3 separate regions of the Homo sapiens genome follow, and regions 1 and 2 are each linked to region 3. Evidence: promoter capture Hi-C in human tissues and cell types (Jung and others, 2019). All regions are on one chromosome and are shown on one strand. The core of a region is centred on a gene start or on the middle of the fragment in contact, and the rest is flanking DNA. Distances in the headings are between cores, read along the strand shown. Region 1 holds the start of STAT5A (signal transducer and activator of transcription 5A). Region 2 holds the start of IFI35 (interferon induced protein 35). Region 3 overlaps RETREG3 (reticulophagy regulator family member 3).

Evidence for each region. The method cuts DNA at HindIII sites, captures the fragments that hold promoters and counts their contacts. A contact is called where the count stands out against the background at its distance.
Region 1: the fragment with the promoter of STAT5A here is called in contact with a fragment that was not itself captured in region 3 in 2 of the 25 tissues and cell types used here (dorsolateral prefrontal cortex and lymphoblastoid cells).
Region 2: the fragment with the promoter of IFI35 here is called in contact with a fragment that was not itself captured in region 3 in 1 of the 25 tissues and cell types used here (spleen).

What each region holds. Positions count from the first base shown.
Region 1 is chr17:42,287,051-42,290,677 of GRCh38, reverse strand. STAT5A (signal transducer and activator of transcription 5A) reads right to left here and starts at 2,180. Exons shown (of 19, transcript NM_001288718.2): 1 at 2,080-2,180; 2 at 1,139-1,276; 3 at 656-812. The coding sequence starts at 1,266. It also overlaps a transcript of STAT5B not described here. RefSeq lists enhancers at 1,117-1,176, 2,623-3,123, 3,407-3,466 and silencers at 1,827-2,506, 2,527-2,606. The HindIII fragment of the contact is 10,924 bases long and covers 1-3,627 here.
Region 2 is chr17:43,005,255-43,009,154 of GRCh38, reverse strand. It overlaps IFI35 (interferon induced protein 35), which reads right to left and starts at 2,371. Exons shown (of 7, transcript NM_001330230.2): 1 at 2,187-2,371. The coding sequence starts at 2,207. RefSeq lists an enhancer at 2,202-2,511. The HindIII fragment of the contact is 8,301 bases long and covers 1-3,900 here.
Region 3 is chr17:42,600,885-42,604,373 of GRCh38, reverse strand. The region is part of intron 1 of RETREG3 (reticulophagy regulator family member 3); the gene reads left to right. Among named protein-coding and RNA genes, the nearest start is that of RETREG3, 6.7 kb to the left of the region's middle. The HindIII fragment of the contact is 8,726 bases long and covers 1-3,489 here.

The DNA.
Region 1 (3,627 bases), core at 931-3,430, 310 kb after region 3:
TGGCCTCCTATATTGCTTCCCCTCAGGCTTCTCCTGTTTTCCCCCTCTTCTGGGATGGACTTGTATTTCCCTGGCACCCTGCTGTCTGTATTGAAGGGCTCTCTAGGAAACATACGTGAGTTCCAATAAGTGCTTGACTGTCATCACTACCCACACCCCTTTCCTGCTTCCACAAAAACTCCCTCTCTTCCTCCATACCCACTCCCCTCAAGTAAAGAAGCTACATCTTATTTCTAAACCCTCAATTCAAAGCCCTTGTGTCCAGCTCTTGTCTCTGGGATGGCTCCTCTCTCACCTTTAAAAGACCCCAAGAGGGAGGTCTGGTGGCCTCATTTCTAGAGTCTGCTGGTCTTCCCTTCTCCAACATAGGAATCCTGACTCAGTCTCCCTCCATCCCTTCTGCTGCTTCCATAAGGCCAGTTCACCCATCTCTCTCTGTTGGCAACAAACACCTCCCACCCTTGCTTTGCAATATGCTAAAGAAATCCGACAGGTCGAATTTAGAAAGAGGGGGTGGGGGAAATCGAAGAAAAGTTCCCAATAAGTTCGTGGTCACATGGTGAGTCAGTGGCCAGGCCAGGAAAAAACCCAGGGGTTCTGATGCTGGAACAAGATGATGCTTCCTCCCCGTAGGTGGCCCAGAGCCTACACCCACCTGGAGCTGCGTGGCGTAGTGCCCCAGCTTGATCTTCAGTAAAAACCCATCTTCCCCCACCTGGTGCTCCGCCTTCTTCTGCAGCTCCTGCACCAGGCCCTCCAGGAGCTGGGTGGCTTGGGCTCTGTCCTGGGGATTGTCCAAGTCAATGGCATCCCTTGGGGCAGGGCAGAAGAGAAAAACCTACTGTGGCACCTCCTTGGGCAAGGAGGTCAGGGAGCTGGAATAAAGTGGAAACCCCAGGCTCATGACCGAGGGCACTCCAGGGCCCACAAGACTTGTTCCCAGCAGCTCCACAGACATCCGAGTCTAAAAACATTCTCTGTCCTCCCAGGCTTCCCCTTTCCCAGGGGCACCACCCCTTCCGCACAAAGAAGGACAGGCAGGACCAGAGTCACACCAAACCACCATGAGTAAAACTAGAGGCCAAAGGGCCTGGATGGTAGGGACCCTCTGAGGAGGGGCAGGGCGGGACGTGCCTACCATGGCTGGCTCTCAATCCACTGGGCCAAGTAGTGCCGGACCTCGATGGGGAAGTGCTGGCCGTACAGCACCTGCATCTGGCGCAGCGCGTCTCCCTGCAGCTGCTGGGCCTGGATCCAGCCCGCCATGGCCGTTCACCTAGGGCGAGCCGAGCGCTGAAGCGCTCTCCTCTGCAGAGGCCAAGGAACCGGGCCTGCCCCTGGCCTTGCCATGCCTACCTATCCCTGGACCGCGGCCAGGCCAGGCCCCTCCCCTCCCACAGATAGCTTTCCTGTGCGGGAACAGAGATGGTGAGGAGTGGAGGGCCGCCCATCCCCTCCAACAAGGAACCCGCTGAAGGGGAGGGGAAGGTGCTCTGCAGAGGCAGGTGCCCTCCCCGTCTTCCTCTCCCCTCGCCCCACCGGAGCTTCCCTAGTGAGGGGGACGGCCAGAAACTGAAAGAGAAACTTGACGGCGGGAGGCCCACAGGCCCCCTGGAGAGGGCTGCAAGGATCCCCCAGCCCACCTCGGGCCCGGTTTCTGGGAAGGGGAGATATTCCAACCCGAAGTTAGGCCAGCGCCACGACGGCTCCCACTCGACGGCTAGGGCTTTTCGGGCACGTGGCTGGGGCTGTTCAGGAGACAGGGCTGAGGACTTGGGCGCTCCCCTCTTCGGCTGCTCCCCCATCTGTGCACTAGTGCCTCCCCGGGTCCAGCCCGACAGGTGCTCCCTCTCCGAGGCGTGCCAGGACGGCGCCCTCCCTGGCCTCTGCCTTTCATCCCCGACCCCTGTCCCCACGTCCCCCCGTCCCTCGTCTGCGCTGGGCCAACTCCCTCGCAGTGCCGGGGACTGATCCCCGCGCTGCGCCCGGCCGTCGAGCTCCGGGTGCCGGAGGTGCCGGGGCGGCAGTAGAGTGTCCCCTCTCGGCGCGCCGCCGAGGACGCGCCACCGGGTCACCCACCTGGTGGGGCCGCACCGTCCGGCAGCCGGGCCGGCTCTGCGCCCCGCGGCTCTCGCTCCCGGCCGGGGTTCCTGGCGGCGGCGGCAGCGGCGGCTGTTACTACAGGAAGGAGCGGAGAGCAGCGATTTCCTCCTCAAAGGTCAGCTGCCTGCGATAGACCATACACAGCGCGCGAGCCCGCGCCAGCAGCCCTCCCAGCCCCGCTTGCTCCCTCCCTGCCTCGCCCTCAGTCGCCGGCTCCCCTGCAAGTGCGCAACAGCGGCGGCCGTTCCCGGCGGGCGGCGCCGGGCGTGGGGGCTGCCCCGACGGCGGGGTCCCCCGGGAGTCCCAGCAGGCCCTCGGCGGCGGCTCCCAGGGAGCGTCCCGGAACCGGGGCGGGTCAGAATAGCCGGGGGAATGTGGTTGTCGGGCGTTGCCGGGAAATCCCGGGCTCTGGAAATCCCAAACCTGGGCCTCAGTTTTCTCATCCGCAAAAAGGGAGGAGGGAAAAGTGGACCAATTGGCGACGCCTTCCAGCTCTGGCGCGTGTCATCTTTTGAGCCCCTAGATTAAAAAATAAATGTGTGGGGTGTGTGTGTGCACGCGCGTGTGTGCGCATGTGTGTCTTGGGGGCCACAGGTTTTGTGACCTCAGAGACAAAACTGTAGAGAGGGGAAGAACTGGGGATTCTAGTGAAGCCAAGATCACCCCCACCACCGCAGCACCTCCCTCCTTCTTTTACTCCGGCCATCTAAACTCAACCCTGACGGAGGAACTGGAAAGAATCTTGGCAGTCATGTGTTTCAGCCCTCCCCCTCTCCACAATTTTGCAGGTAAGAAATGGAAGTCCTGAGAGGGAAAGGGGCTTGCCCGGGGCCACCCAGGGCCACACAGTAGGCACGTGGCCTCACCAGCCGACTGTGATCCATAAACTAGCCAGCGCCCCCGTTCACCCAGCCTAGTTACTTATGAGGCTGGTTCTACCTTCAGAAAAGTCCAGGGAGGGACCGTCTTGAGTCCTCCTAACTTCGAAACTCTCTACAGGCCTTGCCACAGCAGTGAATATCCTGTCTAGAGCCTCAGTCCCCCTCTCCAAGAGGCCCCTTCCCACGAGGCCCAAGGGGTTTGGTAAGGTCGGGCTGGACGCCTTCCATCCCCTTTGCCCAGCTTCCCTCTCCTCTGGGCCTCCCCTCTGCCTGGCAGCGGGTTGGCAGCACCAGAGGAGGGGCCAGCCCAGCTGCCCACTCACAGCACAGCTGGGCCAAGACTGCATGTTCTGTTGGGGGGGGTGCATTCTCATCTGCCTCCCTCCCCAGCTGCTTCTCAGAGCTGCCCTTTTCTCTCCATTTCCACTCTCCTTTCTTGCCCCTTACTACCTCTCCCAGTTTCATTCTTTTAACTTCAGAGGAAAAAAAAAAAAAGAACTTCAAAGCTGCAGAAGCCAAAATGTCTGCGTTCTCCCCACCTTCTCTGTGTGGTCACAGTGTCTTAGTTGGCAGGATCACGAGGAAAGGAATTGAAAACTCTAAGGGGGTGCATGGAGGATGTAGGGAAGCCTTGCTTCCCAGA
Region 2 (3,900 bases), core at 1,122-3,621, 400 kb before region 3:
TGGTGGCACATGCCTGTAGTCCCAGCTACTCGGGAGGCTGAGATGGAAGGATCTATTGATCCCTAGAGGTGGAGGTGGCTGCAGTGAGCCATGATCCAGCCACTGCACTGCAGCCTGGAAAAAACAGTGAGATCTTGTCTCCAAAAAACAAAAAATCTGGATTTTTATTTGAAAAAGATGGCCCAATTTAACGTATATAAAGCCGGGTGCTGTGGCTCAAGCCTGTAATCTCAGCATTTTGGGAGGCTAAGGGAGGCAGATCATGTGAGGTCAGGAGTTCGAGACCAGCCTGGCCAACATGCTGAAACCCTGTCTCTACAAAAAATTAGCCATGCTGGGCACGGTGGCTCACGCCTGTAATCCCAGCACTTTGGGAGGCTGAGGCAGGCGGATCACGAGGTCAGGAGTTCGAGACCATCCTGCCTAACACAGTGCAACCCCATCTCTACCAAAAATACAAAAAACTAGCTGGGCGTGGTGGCGGGTGCCTGTAGTCCCAGCTACTTGGGAGGCTGAAGCAAGAGAATGGCATGAACCCATGGGGCGGAGCTTGCTGTGAGCCGAGATCCTGCCACTGCACTCCAGCCTGGGTGACAGAGCGAGACTCCATCTCAAAAAAAAAAAAAAAAAAAAAAAATGAGCCAGGCGTGGTGGCATGTGTGCCTATAATCCCAGCTACTTGGGATGCTGAGGCAAGAGAATCACTTGAATCTGGAAGGCAGAGGTTGCAGTGAGCCAAGATCATGCTATTGCACTTCAGCCTGGGCAACAAGAGTGAAACTCCATCTCAAAAAAAAAAAAAAAAAAAAAAGGAAAGAAAAGTCCGGGCATGGTGGCTTACACCTGTAATCCCAGCACTTTGGGAGCTTGAGGGGGGCAGATCACGAGGTCAGAAGATCAAGACCATCCCGGCTAACACGGTGAAACTCCATTTCTACTAAAAATACAAAAAATTAGCCAGGCATGGTGGAACGTGCCTGTACTCCCAGTTACTTGGGAGGCTGAGGCAGGAGAATCGCTTGAACCCGGGAGGCAGAGGTTGCAGTGAGCCGAGATCATGCCACTGTACTCCAGCCTAGGAGACAGAGTGAGACTCCGTCTCAAAAAAAAAAAAAAAAAAGGGATTGTCCTTGGGGAACTGGGGTTCTGAAAAGGTTGGCAATAATAATATTAAGAAGAAACACATATTGAATGCTCTGTAGGTGCTAAGCAGTGGGATAAGTTTTTACCGTGTTAATCTATGGATTACCTAGTGTGATTCTTAAAGTATAATTCTTATAGTATATATATATATATATATATATATAAATTTTGTGTGTGTGTGTGTGTGAGAGACAGTCTCCCTCTGTTGCCCAGAGTGGAGCATAGTGGTACAATCTCGGCTCACTGCAACCTCTGCCTCCCAGGTTCAAGCAATTCTCCCGCCTCAGTCTCCCTAGTAGCTGGGATTACAGGTGTGTGCCACCATGCCTGGCTAATTTTTGTGTTTTTAGTAGAGATGGGGTTTTGCTATGTTGGCCAGGCTGGTCTCGAACTCCTAACCTCAAGTGATCCACACGCCTCAGCCTCCCAAAGTGCTGGCTGGGATTACAGGTGTGAGCCAACACACCCAGCCTAATTCCTTTAGTTTAATTTTTTTTTTTTTTTTTTTAGACAGAGTCTCGCTGTGTCACCCAGGCTGGAGTGCAGTGATGCAATCTCGGCTCACTGCAACCTCCGCCTCCCAGGTTCAAGTGATTCTCCTGTCTCAGCCTCCCAAGTAGCTGGGATTACAGGCGCACACCACCACACACAGCTAATTTTTTGTATTTTAGTAGAGACGGATTTTCACTGTATTGCCAAGGCCTCCCAAAGTGCTAGGATGACAGGCGTGAGACACCACGCCCGGCCTAGAACAATTGTTATTTGGGTCACAGAACCCGCTGAGTATCTGATGGAAACTACAGATTCTCTCTCCAGAGAAGTGTACACACACAGGATTTAATGAGCTCCTCCTGTCTGAGGCAATAGGTTAGGGAACCAACTCTTGCAGAGGCAACCCCAGCCCTGTGTTTCTCCCCAGCCCTTCAGCAGGTCTGAGATGGGCAGGGTGAGGCTTGGCTGCCAGGCCCTGAGATATCTGCAGGTTCCTAGCCAAGAGGATTACTCCTGTTTCCCCACTTCCCAACTCCCTCCTCCTCACTTACGGCATCCAGTGGGGCTGACATGGGTCTCGGGTCTGTTTGGCAAGAGCTGAGGCTTCAGAGCTGGGCACAGTGGCAGAATTCACAGCAACTGAACTCTTGTTTGTACCCCCCAAAGGGCTGTGGTCTCTCTCAGCCCCAGCAAGACCCGAAATACACCTCAGGAGGCTCTGCTCGCAGGCTGTTTGCTTCCACTTTCATTTCCGTGAAATCCCTGCCTTCTGGCGCTCACATGCCGCCCCCTGCCGAGGCTTCCCCACCCCTGGGAGGAGCCTTCTTGGTCAGCAAAGTCGACTTCACTCAGCCAGGCTGCCTCAAGGAAAGCCACCTCACCCCAACTGCAAACTGGCCCCCATCAACCATTCCCAGCAATCTCCGACAAGCCCATTGGTAGACCCTGCTTTGTCAATGGATTATTTCCCTAGAGCCTAGAATAATGCTGGGCACATTGAACATTGATAAAATAATTGCTGAATGAGCTGGGTGCGGCGGCTCACACCTGTAATCCCAGCATTCTGGGAGGCCCAGGCGGGCAGATCACCTGAGGTCAGGAGTTAGAGACCAGCCTGGCCAACATGGTGAAACCCCACCTTTACTAAAAAAATACAAAAATTAGCCGGGCGTGGAGGTGCATTCCTGTAATCCCAGCTACTTGGGAGGCCGAGGCAGGAGAATAGCTGGAACCCGGAGGCAGAGGTTGCATTGAGCTGAGATGGTGCCATTGCACTCCAGCCTGGGTGACAAGAGTGAAACTCCATCTCAAAAAATAAATAAAACAATAATTGCTGAATGAATGAGAAACACAGTCAGGACAGATAACGCCCATAGTTCAAGTTCACAAAACTGCCGGGTGCGGTGGCTCACACCTGTAATCCCAGCACTTTGGGAGGCCCAGGTGGGCAGATCACCTGAGATCCCAAGTTAGACACCAGCCTGGCCAACGTGGTGAAACCCCGTCTTTACTAAAAAAATACAAAAATTATCCGGGTGTGGTGGTGTATTCCTGTAATCCCAGCTACTTGGGAGGCCGAGGCAGGAGAATAGCTGGAACCTGGGAGGCAGAGGTTGCATTGAGCCAAGATCGCGCTGTTGCACTCCAGCCTGAGTGACAAGAGCGAAACTCCATCTCAAAAAATAATAATTGCTGAATGAATGAGAAACACAATCAGGACAGATAAAGTCCACAGTTCAAGTTCACAAAACTGCCAGGCGCAGTGGCTCATGCCTTGTAATCCCAGCACTTTGGGAGGTCCAGGCGGGTGGATCACGAGACCATCCTGGCCACCATGGTGAAACCCTGTCCCTACTAAAATACAAAAAATTAGCCGGGCCGGATCACACCACTGCACTCCAGCCTGGGCAACAGAGTGAGATTCTGACTAAAAAAAAAAAAAAAGTGCCAATCCCAGCAGCTGGGCCCACTGGTAACATGTGCCTATAGTTCCAGCAGGTTGAGGCAGGAGGACTGCTTGAGCCCAGGAGTTCGAGGCCAGCCTGGGCAACACAGTGAATCTTGTCTCTTAAAAAAAAAAAAAAAAAAAAAAAAAAGGCTGGGTGCAGTGGCTCACGCCTGTAATCCCAGCACTTTGGGAGGCTGAGGCGGTGAATCACTTGAGGTCAGGAGTTTGAGACCAGCCTGACCAACATGGGGAAACCCTGTCTCTACTAAAAATACAAAAATTAGCCGGGCGTGGTGGCATGCGCCTGTAGTCCCAGC
Region 3 (3,489 bases), core at 119-2,618:
TAACAATCTGTGAATCTACATAGTCTATGAATTAGGAATATTGTTTTGGAGCAGTCCACAAGCTGAGTCCCAAGTAGAGATCTCTGTTGGGATCTGCTTTTTGCAGTCACTAGTCTCAGTGAACCATACTGTATTTCTAGGAGGTTATTATAGAATTTGTTATTTCACAAATGAAATGTAAAAATTTTATTTTTGTCCGCCCCCCCAAAAAAATAAATAAATAAAAATGACCCAAAAAAGTGATTAAGGATATACAGCAATTCTGAGTTAGAAGGTTAGGATTTGAGTAAAAAATAATAGAAACAAGAAATGGAAGATGGGGAGCCCATTTAAGTAGAGATATTTGTTCTGTTAAAAAAAATCTACACATCTGATTTCTTTTCTTTTTTTTTTTTTTGAGACGGAGTCTCGCTCTGTCGCCCAGGCTGGAGTACAGTGGCGCGATCTCGGCTCACTGCAAGCTCCACCTCCCGGGTTCACGCCAGTCTCCTGCCTCAGCCTCCCGAGTAGCTGGGACTACAGGCGCCCGCCACCATGCCCACCTAATTTTTTGTATTTTTAGTAGAGACCGGGTTTCACCGTTTTAGCCAGGATGGTCTCAATCTCCTGACCTCGTGATCCGCCCGCCTCGGTCTCCCAAAGTGCTGGGATTACAGGCGTGAGCCACCGCGCCCGGCTACACATCAGATTTCTAATGAAATCTGTTGAGTGAATGTTCCTGATGATAGTCTTTGCAGGGTTCTTGTCTTTGTGAGCCGAGAAGACTCCCAAGGATGCCTTGGTTTATTTACTTCCCCTCTCTTTACCTTTAGTTTTTATCTGCCCTAATTGTATGGTTGAGTGCTTTCTCTCCACTGTTAGCAGCTAGCTGATTTCATTTCTGGTTTTTTTGCAAGCAACAACTGTCACTGCATGATATAGGTTGGGTTAATTTTTCCTTTGAATTTACCGGTGACTTGGGCTCATTAACCAGGCGGTCACAAGTGCTGTACAGTAACAGGCTTTCTGTCCCTGTAGAATGGGATGCTTTGTTTTGAAGTGCCCTTGAGACAATCTTAATCTGTAATAACAAAGGAACCTAGAAATCATGTCTTTGAAAATAGACATGTGGTCATTATTTATGATTATAGCAAACTTTAATTTACTGGTACTAATAGTGAGGCTCCATGGTATAGTTAATCACAAAAGTTTATGTTTGGTTCTGGAATTTCTCACGATGTTTCTGGACACCAATTGCTATTCCAGGGATATTTTATTTAGACTGATCATTTAATTGGATTTTAGTCCCTGACAGAGTGGAGGGACAGTTCACAAAAGGGGAAAAAAAAATCAATGGATATATAAAATTTCACTCTCACAAATAAGAAAAGAATTCAAATATATGTAAATGGAAATTATTTACTAATTTCTATCTTAAGTTTTTTTTTTGGCGGGGGACAGGATCTCACTGTCGCCCAGGCTCGAGAGCAGTGGTGTGATCATGGCTTATTGCAACCTCAACCTCTGGGCTCAAGCCATCCTCCCACCTCAGCCTCTCAGGTAGTGGGGACTACAGGTGTGTGTCACCACACCTGGTTAATTGTTTTGTATTTTTCGTAGAAACAAGGTTTCACCATGTTGCCCAGGCTGGTCTTGAACTCCTGGGCTCCAGCAGTCCACCCACCTTGGCCTCCCAAAGTGCTGGGATTACAGGTGTGAGCCTCCACACCTGGCCTTAAGTATTTTTAATGATCATAATTAATTCTGGGGAAAATATGGAAAAATGGGCATATGGCTGATAGGAACATAAATTGGACAGCCTTTCTAGCAAGTAGTTTGGTAACATATTTTAAGCCACTTAAGAAGCTTTTCCAGGGCTGGGGGAAATGGAGAAAGAATACTAATGGGTATGGGTTTCTTTTGGAGTGATGAAAATGTTCTGAAATTACATAAGGCTATTAGTCGTACAGCATTGTGATTTTTTTTTCATCTCTGCTGCTGGCAGATGAATTGAAAGAGAATTTTATCGTATACAAACCATTATCTCAATAAAGCTATTTTCTTACTTTTTTTTTTTTGAAACGGAGTCTTACTCTGTGGCCCAGACTGGAGTGCAGTGGCATGATCTCAGCTCACTGCAACCTCTGCCTCCCAGATTCAAGCAGTTCTCCTGCCTCAGCCTCCCAAGTAGCTGGGACTACCGGCGTGCACCACCATGTCTTGGCTGATTTTTGTATTTTTAGTAGAGATGGAGTTTCACCATGTTGGCCAAAGTGGTCTTGAACTCTTGACCTCAAGTGACCCACCTGCCTCGGCCTCCCAAAGGCTGGGATTACAGGTGTGAGCTACGGTGCCCGACCAATAAAGCTATTTGTTTAAAATAGTTAATGCCTTTGACCCAGTAACATGCTCAGTGATGTATAGTTCAGCTTTTATTACATCAAAAAATTGGAAACTTTTGGCTGGGCGCAGTGGCTCATGCCTATAATTCTCAGCACTTTGGGAGGCCGAGGCAGGCAGGTCACCTAAGGTCGGGAATTCAAGACCAGCCTGACCAACAATGGAGAAACCCCATCTCTACTAAAAATGCCAAATCAGCCGGGCATGGTGGCGCATGCCTGTAATCCCAGCTACCTTGGGAGGCTGAGGCAGGAGAATCCGTTGAACCTGGGAGGCAGAGGTTGTGGTGACCCGAGATCGCGCCACTGCACTCCAGCCTGGGCAACAAGAGCAAGACTCCGTCTCAAAAAAAAAAAAAAAAAAAAAGTTGGAACCTTCTTAGTTTATTTTTCGTTTATTTTTCTTTTCTTTTTTTTTTTTGAGAGAGTCTCGCTCTGTCTGTTGCCCAGGCTGGAGTGCAGTGGCGCGATCTCGGCTCACTGCAAGCTCCGCCTCTCAGGTTCACGCCATTCTCCTGCCTCAGCCTCCCGAGTAGCTGGGACTCCAGGCGCCCACCACCACTCCCGGCTAATTTTTTGTATTTTTTAGTAGAGCCAGGGTTTCACCGTGTTAGCCAGGATGGTCTCGATCTCCTGATCTCGTGATCTGCCTGCCTCAGCCTCCCAAAGTGTTGGGATTACAGGCTTGAGCCACCGTCTTAGTTTATTTTATTTTATTTGAGATGGAGTCTTCCTGTGTTGCCCAGGCTGGAGTGCAGTGGCACAATCTCAGCTCACTGCAACCTCCGCCTCCCGGATTCAAGCAGTTCTCCTGCCTCAGCCTCCTGAGTAGCTGGGATTACGGGCACCCGCCACCATGCCTAGCTAATTTTTGTATTTTTAGGTAGAGATGGGGTTTCACCATGTTGGCCAGGCTGGTCTTGAACTCCTGATGTCAAGTGATCTACCTGCTTCAGCCTCCCAAAGTGCTGGAATTACAGGTTTGAGCCACTGCGCCTGGCCCATTCATTGTTTTTTTTGAGAGAAGGTTTCACTCTGTCACCCAGGCTAGATTGCAGTGGTGTGATCATGGCTCACTGTACCCTGGAACTCCTGAGCTCAAGTGATCATT